Linked DNA regions of Homo sapiens: region 1 is linked to region 2. The links are contacts of gene promoters, found by promoter capture Hi-C in human tissues and cell types (Jung and others, 2019). All regions are on one chromosome and are shown on one strand. The core of a region is centred on a gene start or on the middle of the fragment in contact, and the rest is flanking DNA. Distances in the headings are between cores, read along the strand shown.

What was found. Contacts are between HindIII fragments. The study calls those that stand out against the background at their distance.
Region 1: a fragment that was not itself captured here is called in contact with the fragment with the promoter of COL5A1 in region 2 in 1 of the 25 tissues and cell types used here (mesenchymal stem cells).

Annotation. Positions count from the first base shown.
Region 1 is chr9:134,687,624-134,695,119 of GRCh38, forward strand. COL5A1 (collagen type V alpha 1 chain) reads left to right here. Exons shown (of 66, transcript NM_000093.5): 2 at 3,289-3,456. Among named protein-coding and RNA genes, the nearest start is that of COL5A1-AS1, 39 kb to the left of the region's middle. RefSeq lists an enhancer at 1,167-1,957. The HindIII fragment of the contact is 4,164 bases long and covers 145-4,308 here.
Region 2 is chr9:134,638,999-134,646,521 of GRCh38, forward strand. It overlaps COL5A1 (collagen type V alpha 1 chain), which reads left to right and starts at 2,805. Exons shown (of 66, transcript NM_000093.5): 1 at 2,805-3,298. The coding sequence starts at 3,190. RefSeq lists enhancers at 3,784-4,490, 5,746-6,330. The HindIII fragment of the contact is 11,057 bases long and covers 1-7,523 here.

The DNA.
Region 1 (7,496 bases), core at 977-3,476, 48 kb after region 2:
AACCTCTGGGCACAGCTGCATGGTCCTTCACTAAAGAGTAGGCACCGGGCTGGGTGTGGAGACCACACGCGTGATGCCATCTCGTCTTCACTGAGCACCTGGGCTGCTCGGTGGGTCCTCTGGGAACTGCTGGTGATGGGCCCCTGCCTGGCTGTCTAGGAGAAAAGGGCAAAAGAGAGGGGCTCTTGTTTGTTGAGCCGGGAAGTGCACGGGCCAGTGTGCGGTGGCCACTGTTGATTCTGCAGCTTCTCTCACTGGCCTTGACCCACTGGGATCCACCCTCTGGTGGGGGGTGCCACTGGCTTCAAACCCATGTCCACCTGTCCCCAAAGCTTGTGCTGTGTCCAAGTGGAGTTTTCATCCTGATGGAGGCTGGAAGAAAAGCTCCTGAAAGGCTGTGCGCCAGGCTCCTCCTGGGCTCTCCCCAACCTTTTCTTTTTCAAAAAGTACTTAATGTTTTCCTCTGCTCTGGCACAGGAAGCCCCTGGCCAGCAGGAGGGGTGGCACTAGGCCTGGGAAAGGTCTGGTGGCCTCTTAAACTTGTTGCAACAGAGATCTGCGAACATGTCCACCAAGCCTGCTGGAAAACAGCTCTTGCCTTCAGCAATGGAGAAAACAGGCTTGCGAGCCTGAGTCTGGGAAGAGCATCACGGGCTTGTTATGGTGTGAGTCCAGGAAGCCCCGGCCGGGATCCTTGCTCCCCTGCCCCGGCCGCTGCCAGTGCTGGAATTGAGTCTTAGGGATGACCCAGGGCTCGGCACTGTGTCATCTTCAGCAGGTGGACCGGCAGCTGGCGCATCCTCTCTTTCCACGGGCTGCATCCAGGCCCAGGGCTGCGCGGTGCAGCCTCACCAGGCACTGGCACTCAGCGTTTCTTCTCAAGTCAAAGGCAAAAGCCCACCAAAGCCTTCTTTGCTGGGGCCAGGTGGGAGGTGCCATACATGCCCGAGGGGGTGACAGAGCTGGGTGGGCTGTGCCCTGCTTGGCAGCCGAAAGCCACCCAGGAAAACAGAGAGGCCATGAGAGGCCTGGACGTGGGGTGTTCTGGGTCCCTGTGCCGCCCCTCCCCTTTGTCACTGTTCCCACGCCGCAGTGGGAAATCCTCAGCTTCTCCATGTTTCTGGCTTCTTGATTTAATTGGCAGAGGACTGCAGCAAAGCCAAGCTGTAGAAATGACACCGTCAGAGGCAGGGACTTCAGAACCCTGGGACCTGGGTACTGTGGAGCCTTCCAGAGAACTGTGGATGGGGAGGGGCTTCATGAATGAGAAATGCGGCTTCGATTTCCCTCCACCCTGGTCTCCTTCAGAGCCCTGCCCAGGCTGCTGTCTTCCCTGCACTGTCAGCTGGTCATGGCGGGGGTGGGGGTGGCACAGGTTCCTGTCTGTACCTCCTTGTGGCCTGCGCACCAAGCACAGTGCCCGCGCTGAGTCCCCTGGAGGGACAGGGAGTGCTGGGGAGACAGAGTCCTCCGTCTGGGTGCTCCTCTTGCTGAGGGCCTGCTGGGACAAGCAGTGACACTGCGCCATTGTCTCTGGCAGCCACCTCCTCCCGTGGCAGTGCCGAGGCTGCAGGTGCCCCTGGCTGCAGGAGTCCTTGAAAACCAGCAGAGAGGAAACCTGCGTGGCCATCCCATCTCACCTCCAAACCTTCTGCCCTTGGGAAAAAGGTGGGACTTTCCTCTTGAGCCCGTCGCAGGCTGATCACCATTCCTCCCTGGGGAGGAGGGCCAGGCCAGAGAGCGGGGAACTGATAGCTGAGGAGGCCCACACCACTGCACCCAGAGATGGGCACTGTTTAGTAGCAGATGTTGGGATCTAACTCCAATTGGCATTAGCATAAAGAGGGATACACCGGTTTCTGTCAGGCACAGCTTGATCCAGCTACTCAAACAGTGTGGCCAGTCTGTCTCTCTGCATCCTCAGGCAAGCACTCTCCACCTGCTCAGGAGACAGTTGCCAGCAGCTCCAGGTTCCTGTTCTGTGTTTGGAGCCAGCAGAGCAGGGAGGATTCCTCTTTCTCAAAGGAAAAAAGCCCCAGGACGGAGCTTCCTTATCCTGGCTGGTCTCACGTCCATCCCTGAGCTGACCGTCTGGGACAGGGCGGTGTCATGCTCTGATTGGCCAGCAGAGGGGGCACGGCCAACCCCGTCCACATCTACTGGGCAGGGCAGTTGCCGGCTGCTGGGTTCCTCCAACTCCCAGGCCGCCCCAACACACACCATTCTGTCGCTGTGATGCCAACTTCGAGTTTATTTTCTCTGCCGGGACTCCCAGGGAGCCTCTTGCTCGTGGGCACAGGAGCAGTGCTTTTCCCATAAAACTGACCTTGTTCAGGGCAGGTTCCTGGATTCGCGCCTTGTGGTGGATGCAGGTCTGGGGTCCTCGTGGTGTGGGGGAAGGAGGCTCTGGCAGATGGGGCCGTCTTTTGTGTTGGAGGGTGACCATTGAGCTCCCTGGTAATGATCACGGCTTCAGTGGCCAGAGGTCAGCTTATCCCCTTGCCCTTCCCTGAGAGCCCCTGGATAGAGGGTCAGGAACCTTCTGGAAGGGATGCGGGGGCTGCCCCTCCCTTGTTCTTGGCTCTGCATGGTCTGGCGATGTGGGCAGGGGTCTTCCAGGGCAATGGAAACTGCACACCCGCTGTAAACGGTCATGGGAAGGCGACAGACAGTCCAGGTGGATAATGACGGGGGGATAAACTAGGCCAGTGACATCCCCGTGACCTCTGGAGGGGCCTCAGGTGGGGTGAAGGTTCTCAGGGCTGCAGGGCAGATGTTGTGACCCACCGGTTCTCCTGTGTCATTGCACAGCACACCATAAGGCGGTCAGCTCCGCAGTGGGCCTTCTGTGGCCTTCCAGCATCTGCCTGGGCTGCTCTCCTTACGTGGCCAATGAGAAGAGGTGTCTGGGAGGCTGGGTGTGTGGCCCCTGCCAGCCTCAGGAGCCACGAGAGCGCAGTGAGGAAGGAGGGCGTCGTCAGAGCTGGGCTAGCCCGGGTCTGCCCCTGGTGTGTGGCCGCTGGTGGGGACAGGGATGGGACCCTCTGGGCTAGCCTGGGTCTGCCCCCGGTATGTGGCTGCTGGTGGGGACAAGGATGGGACCCTCCTCCGCAGCGTGGTGCCCTGCCTCGCCCAGCACGCGGCTCTAAGCTGGTCCTGGGGCTCTTCTGAGTGCCCAGGATTCACAGTGGTGGGGGTGGGGGTGCTTCCTGTCATCCCAGCTTCCGGGTGTTCCCAGGTGCTCCTTTCCTCTCCGTGGCTAACTCTGCTCCTCCTCTGTCATTTCAGCTCAGCCAGCAGATCTCCTGAAGGTTCTAGATTTTCACAACTTGCCTGATGGAATAACAAAGACAACAGGCTTTTGCGCCACGCGGCGATCTTCCAAAGGCCCGGATGTCGCTTACAGAGTCACCAAAGACGCGCAGCTCAGCGCACCCACCAAGCAGCTGTACCCTGGTAAGTGCCGCACCCTTCTGTTTGGGGCGGTGGGTCCCGTTGGCCCTCTGGCCTCCAGCCAGGAGCAGCGCTCAAGCCTGCGTGGTGGCAGAAGCGGGCTCAGCTTTCCAGGAAGCCCCTCTCACGAGCCCGGCTTCGTTTCACTGTAGTGAAAAGGCAGTTGCAACAGTGGGATTTTGTCCTTCTGGACGGGACTGGGCTTTGTCACTGTCCTTCTCTGCTGGATGTGGGTGGGTGGGTGTGGCCCAGTGCCCTTGACCTTCTATCAGCTGTGTCTCTGGTGGTAGCTGGGCCGCCAGGACTCCAAGGGCAGAAAGAGTCGGATGGGTCCTGAGGGATGAGGTTGAGAGAAACCTCGGGGTCGTGGGAAAGGAAGCACTTCCAGACAGAAGCTTAACCAGGGGCAGTGACATTAAGAGACGATGAATCAAACGTCGTGACTCCTAGCAAGAGCATGGGAGGCTTTTAATGAGAGTCAACTGCTAAATGCCGGGTCTCTGCTTTTAATTACATGCCCGGAGCGGGAAGCAGCATTAGCTCTAAGATACAGCATCCAAGTTGTCCCTGTCACCCAGTCGTGGGGCGGCACCTGCCACAGTTAATTAAACCCTCTGGGCTTATCTGGACGTGATTAACGAGCTGTTGATGGAGAACCTCATCGCCTTGACCCAGCCACTTGCTCATGGCCTGGACTAAAATGAGCTCCTCTTTCTGATTCAGATGAGAAAGGGACGGGGGATGTAGGGCAGGTGAGTTCACTTTATGAGATGCTCTGTAATTATTAGAAGACAGCGCAGCATCTTTTTGGTGGACCTGGAGGTGACCCCGGCATTGAACCCACGATCAGGGCAGTCTTTGAATGCTCCGTGGTGTTTCTGATGATCGTGTCCCCACGGGGCCCCTGAAGGACACCCTCTTTTGAGGGGCTGTTTCTGCTTCCACAGACGTGCTCTCTGTACACTCATCCCCAGCCATTGCCCAGCCCTCCTTTACATCCATGTGACCTTGAAGAGTTTGTCTCTGAGAGAATCTGGGCAGTTCTTTTCAAGAATGTTTTTGAGAACGAGTTATTTCAAGAAACACCTTCGAGGCACCGAGTCTCTGCCTTGCAGCTTGGTGGAGGTGAGGTGAAGTGGCCTGGGACCCCTGGCAGCCCATATTCTCTTAAACAGCCCACCTCTGGGTACCAGAGTGGCCCTGGGCTGTGGATCCCCAGCCTCAAGCGTGTGGAACTCATCGGCTCAGACAGCCTGTCCCCGCAAAGGACTGCAGCGGTTTCGTTTCTCCAGGCCTCTGGAGGAGCGTTCATAAGCTTCTGGGAGAGCATCTCTTTTGGAATTAGCCATGGAATCCTCACTTGGACCTTGGCCCAGAAATTGCACCCTTTTCTGCCCCATGACCCCCGGTTTAGAATTCGTGACCTAGAGATCCTGGGAGGGCTGGTCCAGGGAAGGGCTTAGAGAGCTGATTGCCGAGGACCACATGGACTCTGGGTGTGTGACACGCTGAGGGGCACCCTGGGAAGTAAGCGCTCCTGCTTTCCAAGGGGATCTTCAGCCACTTTGTTTAATCTTCTCTGTGTCACCCAATTCTGGGGTGTGGGCACCACACACTCACTGGACTTTGTCCTTCTCTGCTGGATTATCTTGTGGCCAGAAATATTACAGTATCTCAGGAATACGGGCTAATTATTGGATAAATAATCTAGGATCAGCTGGGCGCGGTGGCTCACCCTGTAATCCCAGCACTTTGGGAGGCTGAGGCAGGCGGATCACTTAAGGTCAGGAGTTTGAGACCAGCCTGGCCAACATAGTGAAACTCCATCTCTACCAAAAATACAAAAATTAGCTGGACGTGGTGGTGCGCGCCTGTAATCCCAGCTATTCGGGAGGCTGAGGCAGGAGAATCACTTGAACCTGGGAGGCGGAGGTTGCAGTGAGCTGAGATCGCACCACTGCACTCCAGCCTGGGTGAGAGTGAGAATATGTCAAAAACAAAAAAAAAGGAAAAGAAAGAAATGGCTTGGCCTTCCAGCAGTTTCTGCATAGCAGGCTCTCTGTGCCTCTCTCAGCAGGGACCCCATCCCTGAGCAGGGCTCTTATCTACAGATCAGTTGGTTTCCATGTCTGTTTCCGGCTTTTAACCAGATGCTAGGTGAGCGAGGTTACCGTGACACAGTGAAGCAGTGAGCCGAGATCGCGCCATTGCACTCCAGCCTGGGCAACGGAGTGAGTGAGACTGTCTCAAACAAAACAAAACAAACAAAAAAACCAACACATAATCTAGGGTAAATTTCTGAATAGTCTGCGGGATTTTTTTTTAAGTCCATGTTTTTTTAAGTTTTCCAAAGTGCTTCACTTGCTCTTCCAGAGCCTTCTGTGAATTAGCTTACAGAGTAGAGTGGGTCCACATAAGCCAATTGCCCCATTCATGGCAGATGAAGCTGGAGGTTGCTTGGGAAGTATTGAAGCAGGGCTGTCTACGGAGTCCCTTCTGCAGGTCCCAAAGTGTTGGGTTGGGACCTGCAGAGGTCCCAAGGGACACTGTTGGAGACCAGTGTCATAGGACATCATTTGCCTTTGAATTGACGCCATACCCCGCCTCGCCCCTTCCGCCCGGCCCTCCGAGCAAACTCGCCACCTGTCCTCTGTTGCTCGGACTCTGTCCACCCCACTTGGCTTGTGGGCCCCTCAGTGGAGGGACTCAGAAGCTCACTTCAGGTTTTCTGTTTGAGAAGTGCTCAGTGTGTAGGGGCCACACACAGGAAAGGGCTGTTTGCTTGGGACCGACACGGTCTCGCGCCAGCCACTCGTGTGGGTCAGCCTAAGCGCTAGGGGAGCTGGAGCTGCACCATGCCCTGTCTCGGGGAGCAGCAGCATCTGCGGGATTCTAGAGACCCGTACCTGCCTGGCAGTTGTAGAGGTAGAAGAGAGGGTGCAGCCCAGGTGGCCACGGCAAGGCCTGGGCTGTGGGGAACTGAGTGGAGCAAAAACAGTATCTGTAAGTATCTCTTGGCGAGAGGGGAAGCCCGCATCCAGGCAGCTGTTTCCCCGGCATCCGATCCCCTGACAAAATCCCTGAGCAGGCTCCCCAGACTCCCCGAAGAGCTCACACACCCCTCGGCAAATCAGCAGCCAAGTGGCCCTGGATCACGGGGGTGGGGGTTTGGAGACTGAGCTGAGCAGGTGACTGGGAGCCTCCACCTGGGTGCAGTGCCCGTCCCCGCCCAGGCCGCACAGGCGTTGACCTCTGCCCTCCACCCACACTGGCACCACCTGGTCCTGTATCCCCCACTGGGCACGAACTGGCAGAGTGATCTGGGTGCCAGGGAGACACAGCCATGAATAGAACAGATGGAGCCCGGCCTCCTCTGGCCTGGGAGAGCGAGGTTCCCTAGGCCACCCTCCTCAGGGGCACCGCCCTCCCTTCTGTACAGGGGAAGAATCCTGTTCCCATTTTCTGCACTTGGGGGCAGGACAGAGGCTAGAATTTCCCCCCTCATTCGAAGAGGGTTTTCTAGTCTTGCTGAGACCCAGCAGTCTGGGTTCTGGGATCTGTCCGACCAGGGAGCTCAACCCTGAGCCACGGTTGCTGACCGATCATGGGTGCTGGGTTGTCCTGGCACCAGGGAGATGAGGCTGCAGGGACTGAAGCCCAGGACTGTGACACAGGGGCTGCCAGTGAAGCGGGGAGGGTTGGGACTTCCTTCCCAGTGGGGTCCCAGGCCTCGGTCCCCTGTGTCTGCAGTGCAGACATCGCCTCACGGTGAGGTGGCCTGAGACCCTGAAGGCAGCGGGCCTGGCTTCCTCACCAGGCGGCCCGAGCTCTGGGATCCACGTCCCCACTGGGGGCCCGGGATGGTGTGCTCCCTGCCTTGTTGACCCAGCACTGCTTGTTTGTAATGACCCAGATCTGAGCTGTCCCCTCTGAGGATGACCAGGCGAGGCAGTGTCCCCCCTGGTCACCTGACTTGGGGACCAGCCCCACCTGAGCCCACTTCCTGGATCAGCACGCATCCTCCTCCTCGGCTCTGGTGCTGT
Region 2 (7,523 bases), core at 1,555-4,054:
AGCCTTCTGCGGTGAGTGCCATGAACAGGAGCAGGCAGCCGGGGAGGGCTAGATGGGAAACGATGGATAGCAGAAGACAAGGAAGACACACATGCAAAAAAGGGGCCACCTCTGCATGGGCGTGGGAGTCACTGCTGCATTGCAGGTCAATGTGGAAGGGACCCAGGCACCTTGCTCACCACATACTCCCTAAAGCCTAGAGCGGTGTTGGCAAGGAGTATGCGCGCAATAAGCAGTTTTCCAAGGACTCTGGTTTTGCTCAGTTGTGGGAGGGCATGGAACATGGTGAGTTTGGGACAATCTGCACCAGTTGCTGTTGTCTGAATCTGGGCAGGGTGGTCCTGGCGGCAGGCGTGTGGTCCGGATGCCATGGGGAGGCAGGCAGTGCACACTGGGCTCCAAGCATGGAGACCTGGGTCCAAATCCGGACCCTGTCACGGATGAACTGGGTAAGTCCCCTACCCTCTGTGGCCCCTGATTTCCTCATCTGTGGATGGGAGAGATGCCAGTATTCCCTACCGGTGCATGAGAACTGATGCACGTGTGGGTGAAGAGTGTGAGGCAAAAGCCTTAAGATGTGGCTGATATTCTTAGCTTGGCAACACAGTTCGAATCCTGATTGGTACTGCCGGGCCATTCTGCCATAGTCCCTGGCTGACACATCAGGCCGCCAAGTTTGGGGACTTCTCTCTGAGTTTCCTGGTGGGATAGAAACTCATCTCTCCACCCAACTCAAGGCTCAGATGAGGGTGGAAACTCACATTTGACAGCTTTCCAAGCCACCGCACCACTTGCTCTCCAAGAGAGGATAAAGTGCATCTGTCATGGCTGCTTGAGCTGCAAGACTGAGCCATCTTACCATTGCTGAGAAGTCAACTTTTGGGGGACCTTGGGGTGGTCACTTGAGTGTCAGCTCTTAAGGCGCCAGTTGTGTTAATTCAGGGCAAAGTTTAGATGCTGGCTGTGAGTTACAGGAGGGCTTGCTGACTGGCACGGATGTGCACATGGGACTGTCAGAAAGGAACTCCACTTGTGCTTGGGGAAAAAGAAGCTGGAACCAGAAAGCCTCCACTCTCTTCTGATAACCAGGCCATGGCCTGTGTCAGCACCCCTAGTCTTCAGGGGTGAAGCTGGCCTTGCTGGTAGGGGCGGGGGCACTCCAAGGACCAAGCACAGCTGGGGCTGGCGCGGAGTCTGGGGTTTGATGGAATTTCTCACTCATTGAAGTCCACAGGGAAAGTAAAGGGCCAGTGGCTGCAGGTTAACCAACGCACAGACACGCACACAGGCACACACACAAACACACACATGCACACAACTCACACACATTTTTGCCTGATCACATATGCCTTATACAAGTTGTAAAACAAAATAAAATCAACAAGGAAACAGGTCAGAACTAACATTTGCTTTACTGAATGTATCTCAAGCACCTCCCCACGTCTGTGTGTGAAGAGCTTCTCATTCTTTTCCTGCGAAATATTTGATATCTATGCAAGCGCATGTGGCAGATATGGAGACTAAAAGCCTCATCACCAAGTTAGCAACAGCGACCTATCACCCAGCTCCGGAGCCTGCCATGGCTATCCTGGCAAACCTAACCTCGGACGCCTCTCTCACCTCCTGTTTCCAGAATGGTGAGAATTAAAGAGCATTTGGGGAATTTCACGCCCAGTCTGGAGATGTAACTGGAGAGGGGAGTCCCAGCCCTGTCTGGCATCTCTGGCTAAATTGTTTGTTCAAAGGGAATGGGGATGGCCCAGGGTTTGCAAATCGTTCTTAATTCATTCTGATTCCCTCCTTTTAAAAAACTAGCCCTGCAGCCCTTGGGGAAGGGGTGTGGGTCAGGCTTCAGGAGGCTGTGCAGGGAGGCCAGGCCTGGGGAAGCTGGAGGGAGAGACGCCCACCTACCACCCAGAGACTGGCGGGCCTCCTGCTGGAGGAGACCCCGAGGGGCTTAAAGAAGCCAGGCAGGAGAATCAGGGCCCCAGCTCTTCTCCGAGAGCAGCCGATCAGGAATGCCTTCTCCCTGCGCCAGCTGTCACTCCCAAGGGGATGCCTTCTTTGGTTTCCTTTTTATTGCAGAGGGGCCACCAGGGAGTGGGCAGGAGTGAGGGGTGAGAGCCTGGGGGCCGCAGAGCCAAACTTCGCCTGATTAATAACCCAGATGTTCCCGTCCAAGCACATGGAGGTCCCGGGAGCTCTTGGGAAGTCAGACCCCAGCTCGGTCCCGTGCCAATCTGCAGTTAGGAGGCAGGTCCTCGGTCCGGGTTGACACGTAGGCCACAGTCTTGGGCGCCCTGATCTGGCTGGATGGGAAGTTTAGTCTCCACCCAGAAGAGGAGCTCTGAACTCCTCCACGTTAAAGAAAAAGTTAGGCGGGGTAAACTGCAACTTTCTTTTTAACCCGAAGTGATCAAACCTCGGGGCCCCTCTGCACTGGTTCTTGGAGCATGGCCAGGTGCGGGCACCTGGGGTGGGAACAGTGGGGGGACCAGGGTGGGCCCCTGGGCTCCGAGGCCGCCCCAGGCCCGCCCGCCTACCGGCTCTCAGAGAAAGAACAGGGGGCCGCGCCCGCCCCACGTCCGCTCCGCCCCGGGCCAGCCCCTTCCTCGCTGCGACTCGCCCGCTGTCCCCACCCCCTCGCCCGCGGCGCCCAGTGGGAGGCGGGGGCTGGCCTCGCCGAGCCCAGCGCCGGGCTCTGATTTGCTGCGGGCGTTGGGGATCGACAGCCTCCGCGGCTGCCTTCCAGGAGAGAGGGAGGGAGGAAAAGGGGGAAAAAAGTGCTCCGCGCCGAAGGCGAGGTCCGCACTCTCCGTCCCCGCGGCTGGCGCAGGACCTCACTCGAGCGGAGCGCCCACGGGGAGCGGGTCGCGGGGCGGCGGCGGCGAGGAGGAGGCGAGAAGGAGTTGGAGGAGGAGGAGGAGGAGGCGAGGGCGAGCTAGCCCAGCGGGGTCCCGGCCGCCCCGCGGGCCAAAGTCGAGCCCTCCCGCCCGTGGGCGAGCGCGCCAGCCGCCCCTTCCAGAACAGCCGCCGCCACAAAGAAGAACGGGGGGTGCCGAGGTCCCCATGACCTCCTAAAGTGGTGCGGTCCCTGCTGAGTGCGCTGCCCGGGCCGTGACCCGCGCCCCTGTGCGTCCCCGCGCGCCTCCGAGCGCCCCTGTGCGCCCCGGCCCGCGCCCCGCCGGCATGGACGTCCATACCCGCTGGAAAGCGCGCAGCGCGCTCCGCCCGGGCGCCCCGCTGCTGCCCCCGCTGCTGCTGCTGCTGCTGTGGGCGCCGCCTCCGAGCCGCGCAGGTAAGGGCGCCCCGGGGCGCGGGGCTGCGGGATGGGGCGCGCGCAGCCCGGGCGCCGCTGTCATCCCCGGGCGCCTTCGCCCGCAGAACTTTTCTTCCTTGGCCTGTGGAATGCACGGGCCAAGACCACGAATGCCATTTGCTGGGGGCCCCCCCGAGATGACGACACGCAGACACAATGCCCGCGGGCGCGCCGCCGCCCCCTCCCCAGACGGGCGGGTCGGGTGGGGCTGTCGCGCGAGCCGAGGAAGGACCGAGGGCTGGATCAGCAGGAGGGGTTGTCCACGAGGCGGGCAAACTTTTGTCCCAAAAACCTTCCTTCTCTGTCCCACATCACAGGCGCCCAGCTTGGGCCCTCACAGCCCTACAGCAGAACTTCCTCTGCTCCAAACCGGGCAGGGCCGCCCCCTAGAGTTACAGCCCTTCAAATCCCGGGACTCCTGGGGATGGGGGGAATCCCAGAAGCCTGGGCCCCCAGCACTGAACTTCCCCCAGGCACTGTCACTCTAGGCTGAGCTGGCGCCCTGCTTTCCCCAGGGACAGCGTTTCCTGCAGCCTTGGTCACCTAAGTGTTCGGGGGCACTGGGGACCCCTGCAGGGTGGTAGACAGCCCTGCTCCTAATCCCACCCCCAAACTTCTTGATCCCTGGAAGGCAGCTTTTCCTGGATTCGCTGCTGAGAGATGGGATGCGTGGAGCAAAGCCAGAGATGGGCTTGCAGGCGGGGCTGTGAGTGGTTGGGATGATATGCAGATGTGGGATTCCTTCTGCCAAGGGTCAGCCCTTAGAAGGAGGCTTGCTTCCCGGGGAGGGCGCTTCAAGGCGGGGACTGTCTGCGTCCCTGCCTGGGTTCTCGAGGGTTCAACTCTCCCTGGCGCAGCTTCCTGACGGGGGAGTTTTTCTAGGCATCGCTCTTGGTAGTTAGTGGCGGGGTGGGTTTTCACAGACTCTCGAACATCAGAGCCCCCAGCCCTGGAAGGTCCCCCGAATCCTTATTGACAGGCGGGGAGATGGAGGCTCAGAGCTGTGTGCTGCCAGGTCAGGAGAAGTGGCGGGCAGAGCGATGGGACGGTGGGCTCAGCGAACGTCTGGACCAGCCCGCCGCCTGCCAGCAAGAATGCTTCTCTCTGCTTCACGATTGGAAGACAAGTGGGAAGAATCATTGTCCGTGTTCCGCTTGTCAATTAAAACACTCTTTTCCTTTTTCCCTGGCACGATCAGTGCTTGTTGGGCTAACTGGATGAGCTGGAGTCTGGGTGTGGGGGCTGCCCTGGGGCTCTGGGGGAGGAGCCAGGAGCCTGGCCTGGCTCCCAGGACCTGGGATCTCATCCCTGGGCCGCCACCAACTCTCTCCTGACCCTGGGCTAACTGGGCTTGTGTTTCTCCAGGGGTTAGCTGAAGGTGGGGGACAACAGAGGTCCCCAGAAAAGTGGAGAGGAGAAGGAAGGTGTGGTCAGGGACTGTGCCATTGCCGGGGGACTAGGCCCTGTCTCAGCGCCTCTGGGGACTTTTCCCCAGAAACTCAGGAGGGAGTCCTTCAGGGGAATCGTCACCCTAGACAGCTGGGGCAGGGCACTGCCTGGGGACCATGCACCGGACTGGGCTTGGGGTTCCATTTCCCTCCCTGCCCATCTCCCCACCTCCACACTGTCTTTTTCCCTCTCTGGTTGCCCTCGCTAATCGAAGTGCGGCTCGTTGGAAGTGGGAGTGAGGATGGCCCAGAGCAGCAGGCTATGGAGTTGGACATTTTGCTTTTGTCAGAACAGACTTTTAGAAGCATGTGGAGAGACCACTTTTCTTAGTGAGTTTTGCCAACGTCTCTCCACCTCCCAGGGTGGGACCTATTTGGAAGTCATCCTTCGAGCATGGCCAGAGGGGGCGGCTGTCCACTGGAGATGCAGGCGCTGGGGGGAGGGGGCGGCTGTCCACTGGAGATGCAGGCGTGGCGGGGAGGGGGCGGCTGTCCACTGGAGATGCAGGCGCTGGGGGGAGGGGGCGGCTGTCCACTGGAGATGCAGGCACTGGGGGAAGGGGGCGGCTGTCCACTGGAGATGCAGGCGCTGGGGGGAGGGGGCGGCTGTCCACTGGAGATGCAGGCGCTGGGGGGAGGGGGCGGCTGTCCACTGGAGATGCAGGCGCTGGGGGGAGGGGGCGGCTGTCCACTGGAGATGCAGGCGTGGCGGGGAGGGGGCGGCTGTCCACTGGAGATGCAGGCGCTGGGGGGAGGGGGCGGCTGTCCACTGGAAATGCAGGCGTGGCGGGGAGGGGGCGGCTGTCCACTGGAGAGGCAGGCGCGGGGGGGAGCCACCAGCAAGTGCCTGCTGTCTTCTCCATCTTCGGATCTGCCAGATGTTTTCTGAGGGTTTTCTGAACACAGTTCTTTTGCCTGCTTTCTTTTGGCCAAGTGTGTGAAGGAATGAAAAGTAAGATTGCATTTGGGGCTGCTGAACAGTGTAACGGGGAAGGAGAGTATGGGAAATGAAACATGACCCCAATATTTGGAAATTGAGGTCATCTCCTCTACACGCCATTGGTTGACTCCAGTCACGTGATTGCTTTTTGCAATAATTTGTGGGGAGAGTCGGCCAAGTTTTGTGAGACTTGACAGGTATCAAATGGTTAAATTTCCTCTGACTCAATCAAGTTGGCTGGAAAGACATCCTTTTCCATCCTCTGCCCCCTCCCTCCCTCTCCCCATAAAAGAGCAGTGAGTGGGAGGAGCTCAGAAGCCCCAAGAATTCCCCAAGCCCTCTCCCTGCTGTGGTCCAGATTTGCCGGAGGGGTTGGAGTTTTGGTTGCTACCCAGGGCTGTGCCCACCCAGCAGTGCGGCAGCCCCAGGCAGGGGCGTGCTCCCAGTGCCAGGCTCACAGTGGTTTCTCCAGTGATGTTACTCCTGGGCTGCTCCTGCGGGGCTGGCCAGAGCCTGCTCTTCACCCCGCCCTGCAGATATTTCTGGACTCCCCACCGCCACGCCTCAGCCGAACACAGCTGGTGCTGCCCGTCCCGCCCTGCCTTCTCGCTGCCTGGCCTGTCTGCCTGCCCTGCCTCCTCCCTGGACCGCCCCATCCCACCTCCTGGGAGATAGACCTTGATAGGTGGAGTAGGGGCTGTGCAGAGCAGTGAGCTGCCCCGCTGGAGGGCGAGGATGAGTCCCCAACACTTCCCGAGGGCACCCACATAGGAGCCTGAGCCAAGCTGCATCTGGAACAGTGCAGGACCTGTCCCTGCTCGGTCACGTGACGTGGCTCTGGGAATGGCCTTGGGAGACAATCACACATGGGAATGGAGGGGCTGGCACTTGCCTGGCCTGTGGTGAGCATCAGCTGCACCATCTCACTGCACCCTCACCCGGGCCTGAGAAGGGACAGAGCCTAGGAGTCAGGGGGCAGGGATGCCAGGCAGATGTCTTCCATTCCTGCTGTGGGGCCCTAAGCCAGCAACGGCCCTTCGCCTGGCATGGTCACTCTTTGACTTGTCACAGTTCCCTCTTCTCACTTCCCATCGGTTTATCAGCTCTCCCCGGGGAGAAGGCCAGGGCCCTGAGCTATAGTCCTGGCCTGGGGGCCCAGTCCAAACAGGGTCCTGGGAGCAGAGCCATTCCATTTGGCCAACACAGCTTTTAAGTTCCTTTCTTTCTCCTTCCCCCTCCATCCTTCCCTCCTTCCTTCTTTCCTCCCTCTCTTCCTCCCTCCCTCTCTCCCATCCCCTTCCTTCCTTCCCTTTGTCCCTCCATCCCTTCTCTTTTTACTCCAGTGCCTTCAAGAGGGATGCAGCAGCCACAGTCTCCACCACTTCCCAGGCCTCTCTGCACATCAGCATAACCTGCCTGGACCCTGAAGGCTTTTGCCTTTTCACCTGGGTCGGGCCTATCTTGGGGAGACCGAGGCAAATGGGATGGGACCCCTCGTTTCCTTCCAGGAGCTCACAGTCTGACAGGCAGACCATTGTGAATTTTACTCAGGGCCCTCCATGGGATGTGCTGGGTCTTGCATCCGACAGTCTGGGAGGGTTAATTGCACTGGGGAGAGCTGGGGAGCTTCCTGGAGGAGGTGATGTGAAACTGGCCTTCCCTCCTTCTCTTCTCCTTCCTTTTATTGCAGAAATGACCCTCCTTCGTGGGGTCCTCCTCCACCTCTGGCTTTAATCTTGCTCTCTTCCCTCCTTCTGACAGGACATTCCACACCGTGTCCCAGAGCTCTCCTGGGCGGCTCCCTTGGCTGGAAAGC